Regions from separate parts of the Homo sapiens genome. Here region 2 is linked to region 1. Evidence: promoter capture Hi-C in 16 types of primary human blood cells and fetal thymus (Javierre and others, 2016). All regions are on one chromosome and are shown on one strand. Each heading gives the region's core, a stretch centred on a gene start or on the middle of the fragment in contact. The rest is flanking DNA. Distances are from core to core; before and after follow the strand shown.

Region 1 (5,346 bases), core at 1,032-3,531:
AGAGACATGAAAGCTACTAGGTCAGGGAAAATAAAAAGCTTAAATAACTATTTTTATTGTCCAGATCCTCTACTGTAATAGATTAACTATGTTCAATAAATTTCTAGACAAAATTGACTTGTGTCTGTGAGTGTGTTCTGGGAAGAGAGAAGAGTTAAACATAAGGCAATCCATCAGATAATCCTCAATCAGCCTACACAGTTGGTACAGCGAGCTCTGGGCTAGAAGATCCAGGCTGAGGAGGAGGATGGAGAAAGATTGAGATGTAGAGCCTCTGGGTTGAGAGGGACCTCTGAAATGAACTCATCTAGACTGCTGCCATGGAGATGGTGCTCTACAGTAGCCCTGTCAATCGCTGGCTGGCTTCTGCCTAGGTAAGTCTGCCTTGAATTCATGGTGGTATGTTATGTTACAGTGGTATCCATCTTGGTACTTTTGTCCTCTGCAATGGTGAGTGGTGGGGAGTTTGGGAAATACTACCTCTTCTAAGAGGTTTGTGTAAACCTTAATGGTGTCCTGGTACCACCCTGTGAATCCTTCTTTGTAACTAATGTTTTCCACCCCAGAGCCTCCACATTCATGAGGGATGCCAAAAATCGAAGAAGTTCTTCGTAGATGTACAGCCCAGCACATTCACAACTGAGCATTGTTGCCTGACAATTCATTTATTCAACAATGAATGTTTGAGTGCCATGCATGGTTTTGGGTATCCACTTGTGAGCAAGATGACCTAGGTCCCTGCTCTCACTTGGTGGAGGGGTAGGGAAAGCAGGTAGGTACGGAGAAGGAAAGAAGATAGAACTCTATGCCCTGCAAGCTACTGCTAGAAAACTAACACTTCTGTCTTCCCTCGGGACTCTCCTAGGCCCTTTCACCACTTCTCACCTCTCACCCACATTCTGCACTCCCAGCTAAAGCAGCCAAAGGACTATTTGATTTGGCAGAGCTTTCAGGCACAAAGCCCTATGTTCCCTCTGGCCCAAAGCCACTACTCTGAAGGCTGAAAACTGCCCTTTGGCTCAGGTTGCTGTCCAGTCACAGCCTCACAGATAATTTGTGCTGAACCTTGAGGTGAGGGCAGAGGCCACTTCTTTAAATACTTTGTCTTCTCTACTGCCTTACATTTGAAAAGCACAGGTTGGATCAATAAGTATTAAACGTATAGCGTATTACTCCTTTGAAGCCTCCCTGCTTGACTCCTCCCTTTCCTGCCTTCTCATTCCCTACTTTATTGCATCACAGATACGTAATTTATTACCAAGGATCTTTCATAATTCCCCACCCCTGCCTCTTTCTTCTCTTGCCCACACTGTGTGACTTAACAGAGTCAACAATACATATAATTCCACCAGCAACAAAGAAAATAAGTTTTGTTTTCCTATTGTCTGTTTTCATGAAGAGGCCCTTCTTAGTTAATCTGAAAGCTATGGCTTATACCATAGTCCTCCATCATATCTAAAGCCAGGAACTAGAACTTGGGCTTGTGCTTGAGTCCTGGGTAAAGAAGGGTTGAGTGGTGCTAATTCTTGGCTGTCTGGGTGCTCTTGATTAGTGATAGAATCCTAGTCAACACTGTCGCTTATCCAGACCCAGGAGAATAAAAATCTACTTGGCTCTCCTACTCTTCATTCTGGTAGCATCTTAGGCCAGGTAAAGTTCAATAAATTTTTTTGAATTCTAAGAAGTGGGAATTCCTCCCTCAACTCAAAGGCTATATTGTCAAAAACTCAACTCCCGGCTCTGTCGCTTCTTCACTGAGGGCAATTTATCTCCATAATCAAAGATGAATACATTCAGATGAACTCTTCTGTGTGGGTTTAAATTTTACTGTTCAGCATTCAGTCTTGCTAGTAAATAAGAAAAGATGAGAGAAATGGATTGAAAACTCCCACAAGACCCTCTATGGAAAAGGAGCCAAAAGATTGCAGAGGTATATAGAACTTTAGAGCTTTTGAGTTTAATGATGTCTATCCCTATACCTTCTTTCTGGAAAGCAGATTTTTGTGAATTGAGGGCAGGAACATTACAGAACTGATGCTTCATGGCTCTGGAATACTAAGTCCTCTGAGCCTGGATCTCCTTCAGCTCTGCCACCTACCTCCTTGTTTGCTAAATGTCCTTAGAGAAGTTAGGATATGCCTGGGGAACCCTGGGTCATATAACCATGACAACTGGCTGACCCTGTTGTCTCTCCCTCTCTGCCCTCCTCTAGCTGGGAGGTGGAAGCAGCATTGCCCAAGCCTCCCAGGAGTGACAGGAATTGTTTCTGCCTGAGGAGACACTCTGCAGCCTGGGCTCTGTGAGACTGAGGTGGCGGTCAGCCGGAGTGAGTGTTGGGGTCCTGGGGCACCTGCCTTACATGGCTTGTTTATGAACATTAAAGGGAAGAAGTTGAAGGTAAGGGCCTCTTGGGGATTTTGCTGGGGATGAAAAACTCTGCAGGGAAACTACTGAGGGAGAGATTCTGGTATAGATACCAGAATCTAGAAATAGAGGAATTGGATAGGCACAGTGGATCATGCCTTTAATCCCAGCACTGCAGGTGGCCAAGGCAGGTGGATCACTTGAGCCCAGGAGTTCAAGAACAACCTGGGCAACACAGTGGGATCCTGTCTCTATAAAAAAAGAGAAAAAATTAGCCCTGCATTGTGGTGCATGCCTGTAGTCCCAGCTACATGAGAGGCTGAGGTGGGAGGGTACCTTGATCCCAGGAGGTCAAGGCTGCATTGAGCCATGATCGTGCCACCACATTCCATCCTGGGCAACAGATTGAGACCCTGTCTCAAAAAACAGATAGGGAGAGGGGGAGAGGGACAGACAGAGAGAAAGAGAGAAATAGAGGAATTAACCCAGAGCCTTTTCAAAGATGAAACCTTTAACTTGTTTATTTATTTTTTTAGAGATGGGCATCTCACTGTATTGCCGAGGCTGATCTCAAACTCCTGGGCTCAAGCAATTCTCCCATGTCAGCCTCAGTAGCTGGGATTACAGGTGCTTGCCAGTGCACCCAGCTTGAAACTTCTTGTTTTAGTCTCTTTTGGACCCTCATTTAAGAGCCTTAAGATTTTATCTAAAACTTTTTATCTCTTATGGCTACCTGCATTTTTTATTTCCTAACCTGAACTCCTTTTTTTTTTTGAGACAGAGTCTCCCTCTGTCACCCAGGCTGGAGTGCAGTGGCAGGATCTCAGCTCACTGCAACCTCCACCTCTCAGGCTCAAGCGATCCTCCTGCCTCAGCCTCCCAAGTAGCTGGGATTACAGCTGCCCACCACCACGTCTGGCTAATTTTTGTATTTTTAGCAGAGACGGAGTTTCACCATGTTGCCCAGGCTGGTCTTGAACTCCTGAACTCAGGTGATCTGCCTGCCTTGGACTCCCAAAGTGCCGGGATTACAGGCCTGAGCCACCGCGCCTGGCCTCTTAACCTGAACTCTTATAGGAAACATTATTCTTGGCCGGGCATGGTGGCTCTTGCCTGTAATCACAGCACTTTGGGAGGCCAAGGTGGGCAGATCACTTGAGGCCAGGAGTTCGAGACCAGCCTGGCCAACATGATGAAACCCCATCTCTACTAAAAATACAAAAATTAGCCAGTGTGGTGGTTCATGCCTGTAATCCCAGCACTTTGGGAGGTCTAGGCAGGTGGATCACTTGAGGTCAGGAGTTCGACACCAGCCTAGCCAACATGGTGAAACCCCATCTCTACTAAACAGAAAAAAAAAAAAAAACTAGCCGGGCGTGGTGGTGGGCGCCTGTAATCCCAGCTACTTGGGAGGCTGAGGCAGGAGAATCCCTTGAACCCGGGAGGCGGAGGTTGTAGTGAGCCGAGATTGTGCAACTACACTCCAGCCTGGGCAACAGAGCAAGAATCCATCTCAAAAAAAAAAAAAAAGAAAGAAAGAAAAGAAAAAGAAAGAAACATCAGTCTTGACAAGTAAGCTATGGAGCAACTCATTGCTATGGGACCCTAAGGAGTGGGGCTATTGTGTGTGATATTCACCCTCCAACCTAATGCCTTCTGTTCAGGGCAAATGGGCCCCCAGGCAGCCTGGGCCTAGTTGGTGGCCATGAGAGGTAGGGAAGTGACCCAGTGGAGCTCAAGCCTGAGGGCTTCTGATGGGACCTGGGACTCTGTTTTGCAGCTTGAGGAGCGAGGATGGCAGTCAACAAAGGCCTCACCTTGCTGGATGGAGACCTCCCTGTAAGTAACTTGGGCTCATCTGTGACAGGGGATGGACAACTGAGGGAGGAGGAAGAAGCAGGGAGGGGAGATGCAGGGGACTTAGAGCAAGATATTCCCAGATTATAATCCTAGTTCATTGACTACCATGGCTTAGTTATTCTTGCCCTCACCACCTTTTGTAGGGGGCAGTTGGAGGATCTGGGAGGGGAAAAAAAGATGCCTATTAAAAATTAAGCACCTTGAAAAAAAGGGACAGAAATCCTGGCTTAGGGACGGGGGGAGTGGAGAGGAAGGAAACTACTGTTTAAACCCTGACGCAGAAGCCCATGCTCTGTCCACCACCCAGCTGGATGTGCATTCAGTGCAGAGCCACTGTATTCTGTGTCTCCAGCATCATTCATAACGGCAAATGTCACCTGTCGGAGTTAGACGGTGCACAGCCTGTGCTGCTGTGTGGGGGGAAGGGTGGGATATTCCATGTGTCTGGTGTTCTATCTCTGACCTGGTTTTCACTGTGACTTGAAGTGATTTGATACTTTTAGGGATGCTTGATGGCTCCTGGCAAGGCATCTCAGATTTGGGCACAGTTCGGATAGTGAAACTTAAAAATTATGAACCTGTGCAATATCCACCTTGCCCAAGTTACGCTTTTACTAACTCCTGCACTAGGAATCACTTTGTTTTGTATTGAATCATAGAACAGAGAGAGGCGTAAAATGGTCAAGTACATGGTTAAGCCATTCTAACAGACGGTGGTTTATTCCCTTCCCAGGATCTCTTTCCTCCTTCGGTTTTGTGTAAAACAACCTCTGAAGCCTCGTCCAAAATGTTAAAAAGAATGTTTTCTTGTTTATAGTCATAGTCTATTTCTAGTTCAAATTTCAAATTCACCTGCAGGATAAAAAACTAAGATATTGGCCAGGTGCAGTGGCTCACGCCTGTAATCCCAGCACTTTGGGAGGCCAAGGCGGGCGGTTCACAAGGTCAGGAGATCAAGACCATCCTGGCTAACACAGTGAAACCCCATCTCTACTAAAAATACAAAAAATCAGCGGGGTATGGTGGCGGGCGCCTGTAGTCCCAGCTACTTGGGAGACTGAGGCAGGAGAATGGCATGAACCCAGGAGGCAGAGCTTGCAGTGAGCTGAGATCGCGCCACTG
Region 2 (5,346 bases), core at 861-3,360, 200 kb before region 1:
CTGCCATAGCTATCTGAGTTACTGGCATTCCTGATGCCAACAGGGCAGCAACATTGAGAACAAAATCTCTAGTAACTGGAGCTATTTCTTGTTTTTGTTTTTCAATGATTTCTTTTTCTTTTAAAAAATTTTTTCCCAACACCCATCCCAACTATTTCTTTTTCTTGCTGTTCTTGTAATTTCTTTGCCTAGTCCATCCTCCCAGCTAAAGCTTCTTATGCATCCTTTGCTGTGCCTCTGCCTCTGAAGAGAGATGAACTGGAAATCTGGCTTAAACTTCTGCTAAATCTTAGTTTCTCAATGCTCTTCTTTCTCTCTTGTCTTCTGCTTCCTGTACTACTTCTGCTTCTTTCCTATGCATGTCATATTTATTTATTTACTTATTTTTCACACGCAACACAGATGTAGTTTTTATCTTGAACAGGAGCAAGATCTGATCCATGGTTTTCTTTCTTTCTTTTTTTTTTCTTTCCTTTTTGGAGACGGCGTCTCACTCTGTTGGCCAGGCTGGAGTGCAGTGGTGTGACCTCAGCTCACTGAAACCTCCACCTCCTGGGTTCAAGTGATTCTCCTGCCTCAGCCTCCCAAGTAGCTGGGACCTCAGACATGCATCACCACGCCTGGCTAATTTTTGCATTTTTAGTAGAGACAGGGTTTTGCCATGTTGGCCAGGTTGGTCTCAAACTCCTGAATCTCAGGTGATCTGCCTGACTTGGCCTCCCAAAGTGCTGGGATTACAGGTGTGAAGCACCATGTCCAGCCCATGGTTTTCTTTTCCTGCTTCTAGATCATGATCGTTCTTCTCTCTGCTTCTGGATTGAGACTACTTCTTTTCCCTCTACTACGATGATGCCTTTCACGAGACCTGTATCTTGAGTGACTTCTGCTTCTTGATGGCTTTCTTTGTGTTTGTGTCTGTCCTCATCATTTTCAGATGAATGTATTTATTTATTGAGACAGCATGTCACTCTGTTGCCCAGGCTGGAGTGCAGTGGCACAATCACAGCTCACTGTAACCTCTGTCTCCCCGGCTCAAGCTTCTCACCACAGCCTCCCGAGTAGCTGGAATCACAGGCACACACCACCACGCCTGGCTAACTTTTGTGTTTTTTATAGAGACAGGGCTTTGCCATGTTGCTCAAGCTGGTCTCAAACTTGTGAGCCCAAGCAATTTGCCCACCTTGGCCTTCCGAAGTACTGAGACTACAGACGTGAGTCACTGCGCCCAGCCCATTTTCAGATGAATTTAGTCCCTCTCTTCCTTTATCAGAATAATGTTCTTTGTCATTATGCTCCTCAGAAGTGTATTTCTTAGAGGATTTGTTGTAGGATTCCTGTCTTCTTGCCTCATCATGAAATAGGCTTATTATTTTCCTACCTGAGTCTGCAATGTCTTCAGTTCAGCCTCTTTGCCCATCAGCATGCGCTTTGTGTTTTCGTCCTTCGTTTTCTTTCTTGTTTTCTTTCTCTTGACCTTGATTGTGATCTTGAATAATATTTTGAGTAAGAAAAACAGATGCATCTGACAGTTCTTTTTCCACCCACTATCTGGGGATGTCTTTTTCTGGGGCTAGTCCATCTTGTCCTGGATAACTACCCTATCTTGAGAACCCAGTCTTAGTTTCATGAAACATCTTTAATGAAAACAGCCTTTTGGGATGGTGCTGCTGCAAACTGTGGTCTGGCTCTCCTCGCATGTGCTCTGGCTGCCGCAGAACAGAGCTCAGGCCGCTAGGGGGCACCTCCACGTGCCGCTTTTAGCAGTACCAGCCACCTCAAAGCTTTGCCACAGACTGAATAGCTCCTTCCGGGGGCCTGGATGGCACCCAGGGGATCTGCCGTTGCTTTTTTAATTTATTTTTTTACATTTAGCTCATTAATATCTGTTAGATATTTTTATGTCTGCATTGAAATATGTAACTTTATTTTTCCCCCAAAGGATAACTGTTCCAACATTATCAGTTAGCTTGTCTTTTCCCCACCAACTTAAAATACGACTCTTATTTTTAAAATTGCATTTTATAAACATGTATGTTTCAGTAATTTATATTCTGCCCCACTGATCTATATTCCCATCTTAGAATTATACTTTTATTTTATTTTTAAAATTTATTTAGAGACAAGGTCTTGGTATGTCACTCAGGCTGGAATGCAGTGGTGCAATGATAATTCACTGCAACCTTGAATTCCTGGGCTCAAGCAATCCTCCCACCTCAGCCTTCCAAGTAGCTGGGACTACAGGTGTGTGCCACTATGCCTGGCTAATTTTTTTATTTTTATTTTTTTGTGGAGACGATGTTTTGCTATGTTGCCCAGGCTGGTCTCAAACTCCTGGGCTCGAGGGATCTTCCTGTCTTGGCTGCCCAAAGTGTTGGGATTATAGGCATGAGCCACCTCACCCAGCCTTAGTATTATACTATTTTAGTTAACAAAGCTTTACAATGAATTTTGATACCTAGAAAGACTGCACCCAGGTGAAATAAACAGCCTTGTTTCTCACACAAAGCCTGTTTGGTGGTCTCTTCACATGGACACGTGAGACAGATTTCGCTAGGGAAGCAAATAACCATGGAGGTGGGCAAGAAATATCCATGATTGTAGAGCTTTCAATCAGCCTTTTATTCTTGTAACAAATGAAAAACAAAGGATTATCAGACATCTGCGGAAAACCTCTAACATAGAAGAAGGAGATAAAATGAACAAACAATAAAAAGCAACTTAAAAATGGACACCATATAAAGAAAGGAAAACAGTTTAAAAAAAAAAAAAACCCAAAACCCTATTCTTAAGCTACAGAGAAAGCCTGGCCAACATGGTGAAACCCTATCTCTACTAAAAATACGAAGTATTTTAGCCAGGCATGGTGGCACATACCTGTAGTCCCAGCTGCTCAGGAGGCTGAGGCAGGAGAATCACCTGCACCCGGGAGGCTGAGGCTGCAGTGTTCTGAGATCACACCACAGCACTCCAGCCTGGGTGACAGAGTGAGACCTTGTCTCAAAAAAAAAAAAAAAAAAAAAAGCCACAGAGAAATAAGACATTTATTTTAAATAATAATAAGACCCATTTATTAATTAGAAATAAAATAAGACCCATTTATGTCTTATTGCTAAATGGGTGCTAAACAAAAACACTCACAGCCTTGTTGCTCACACAAAATGAACAAAATGGTCTCTTAGAAATAAAAAATGAGAGGAAATGGAAACAAACAAAAACCCACTTCAACTGAAGTATTAGAAAATCAAGTTAATCAATTGTCTCAGAATGGGCAGAGATGGAAAATGGGAGAGAAAAGATGAGAAAATAAGACAGAGGCCGGGCACAGTGGCTCACGTCTGTAACCCCAGCACTTTGGTAGGCCAAGACAGGGGGATCACTTAAGGTCAGGAATTGGATATCAGCCTGGCCAACATGGTGAAACCTCGTCTCTACTAAAAATACAAAAATTAGCCAGGCGTGGTGGTGCATGCCTGTAATCCCAGCTACTCAGGAGGCTGAGGCAGGAGAATTGCTTGAACCCAGGAGGCAGAGGCTGCAGTGAGCCAAGATCGTGGCACTGCACTTCAGCGTGGACAACAGAGCGAGAGTCTGTCTCAAAAAAAAAAAAAAAAGAAGACAGACAGAGGTCCAATACTTGAATATAAGCAGCTCCAAAAAGATTGATTAGGAATGTGGAAAGGAGGGAATTCTCAACAAAATAATTCGATAAAATTTCCCAGAACTGAAGGACTTGAACTGCAGGATTATAAGGGCTTACCAAGTACCCAGCATAGTGATTGAGAAATAGACCCATTTAACTATGTGTCCTTATAGTGAAATATTCTGGCACTGTTAAAAATGTAAAGATTTATGAATGGCACTAATATGAAATTATTGTATGTGGTTTTTGGCATACATGTATATATCTGTTAGATATGTTATCTGGGAGTAGAATTCCTAGATCATAGAGCATGCATACATAATGTCATAGTTTTCCAAAATGGTTGGTATCTGGCAAAATACAGTGCACTGGTTACCAGTCTCAAGAAAGGAATCTAAATGCTCTTGCCCATTGCATCTTGGTATCAGAGTCGGCAAGGAAAAAGTGCAAACACTGGATAAAGCTTTACTTACATAGAGAAGAGACAGAGCAGGATCAGCTCCAATAGTGTGCGTTGGTTCCTCATGGCAAGTGGGTCTGTCTCCCCAGCAGCCGCTGCAGGGTGGTTTGCCTATGAGCACCCATCTTGTGCTACAGTGGAACGGTGTGCCTGGTCTCTGTCACTTGCTGGCCTCAAGTAAGACCCATTTTCATGCAGTGCCGAACAATTCATGACACTGCTGACAATGAGATTGTTTAAATGAGGTCATTGTCTGAGAGAAATTAAACAGTTATAGATAGATACCTAGGTTGTAGTTACATGGTGTGTTCATTCTGAAAATTCATTAAACTGTGCCCTTGTCATTTGTACACTTTTCTGTTATGTTTTATTAAAAGTTAAAAGGTTCTATAGAGAAGTAAGCTCAGGGCTTTTAAAAAAAAATTTTAAGTTGTAAACACGTCAATTAAATTTATTCATAGGAAGGTATTTTGTAGGCTAAATAACTGACCAAAAAAATTAAAAAGGGAAGATGTTTTGAAGTTAATTTTGGCTGAAATTAAAACACAGCTATGTTAACCCTGTAATAATGAAAAATTTTTTGTACATGTATTCATTGAGGACATAGTATTGTAAGTAGTTGGTTTTTTTAATTTGTTATTCTTTTATGTAATTTTTTTTCTTTTTTCTTTTTTTTTTTTTGAGAGACTCTCACTCTGTCACTCAGGCTGGAGTGCAGTGGTGCGATCTCTGCTTATGGCAACCTCCACCTCAAATGATTCTCATTCAAGCTATTCTCGTGCCTCAGCCTCCCAAGTAGCTGGGACTATAACAGGCTCGTGTCGCCACACCCAGATAATTTTTGTATTTTTAGTAGAGATGGGTTTTCGTCTTGTTAGCAAGGCTGGTCGTGAGCTCTTGGCCTCAAGTGATCCTCCTGCCTTGGGCTCTCAAAGTGCTGAGATTGTAAGTATGAGCCACCATGCCCTACCATAAATTAGCATCTTATAAAGGGGGAAAGAGCCACATGTGTCTGCTGGTTGTGTTGCTATGCTGAAAACAAGGTTTTCCTGTCCTAGATTATTCCCTCTAAATCGAGATAAGTAGGGTGATCAGCTAATGCTGGAGACAAAAGGTAGGTGTTTTAATTTTTGAGATTTATCATAAAGTAAATAGTATTGTGACAGCCCCTTTTACTTTCAGATGTGACATTGATAAAGCTGTGAATGTGTTCCTATTTCTCTTCTTTATCTATTTCTCCTTGTTT

Evidence for each region. The method cuts DNA at HindIII sites, captures the fragments that hold promoters and counts their contacts. A CHiCAGO score of 5 or more calls a contact.
Region 2: a contact is called between a fragment that was not itself captured here and the fragment with the promoter of PLIN1 in region 1, in 1 of 17 cell types (megakaryocytes). The highest score is 5.9, in megakaryocytes.

The regions. Positions count from the first base shown.
Region 1 is chr15:89,676,302-89,681,647 of GRCh38, reverse strand. It overlaps PLIN1 (perilipin 1), which reads left to right and starts at 2,281. Exons shown (of 9, transcript NM_002666.5): 1 at 2,281-2,397; 2 at 4,145-4,203. The coding sequence starts at 4,159. It overlaps PEX11A (peroxisomal biogenesis factor 11 alpha), which reads left to right. Exons shown (of 3, transcript NM_003847.3): 3 at 1-113. The HindIII fragment of the contact is 7,659 bases long and covers 41-5,346 here.
Region 2 is chr15:89,871,552-89,876,897 of GRCh38, reverse strand. All of the region lies in intron 7 of ARPIN-AP3S2 (ARPIN-AP3S2 readthrough), which reads left to right. All of the region lies in intron 3 of AP3S2 (adaptor related protein complex 3 subunit sigma 2), which reads left to right. It also overlaps the pseudogene LOC100631255. Among named protein-coding and RNA genes, the nearest start is that of MIR5009, 9.8 kb to the left of the region's middle. The HindIII fragment of the contact is 653 bases long and covers 1,784-2,436 here.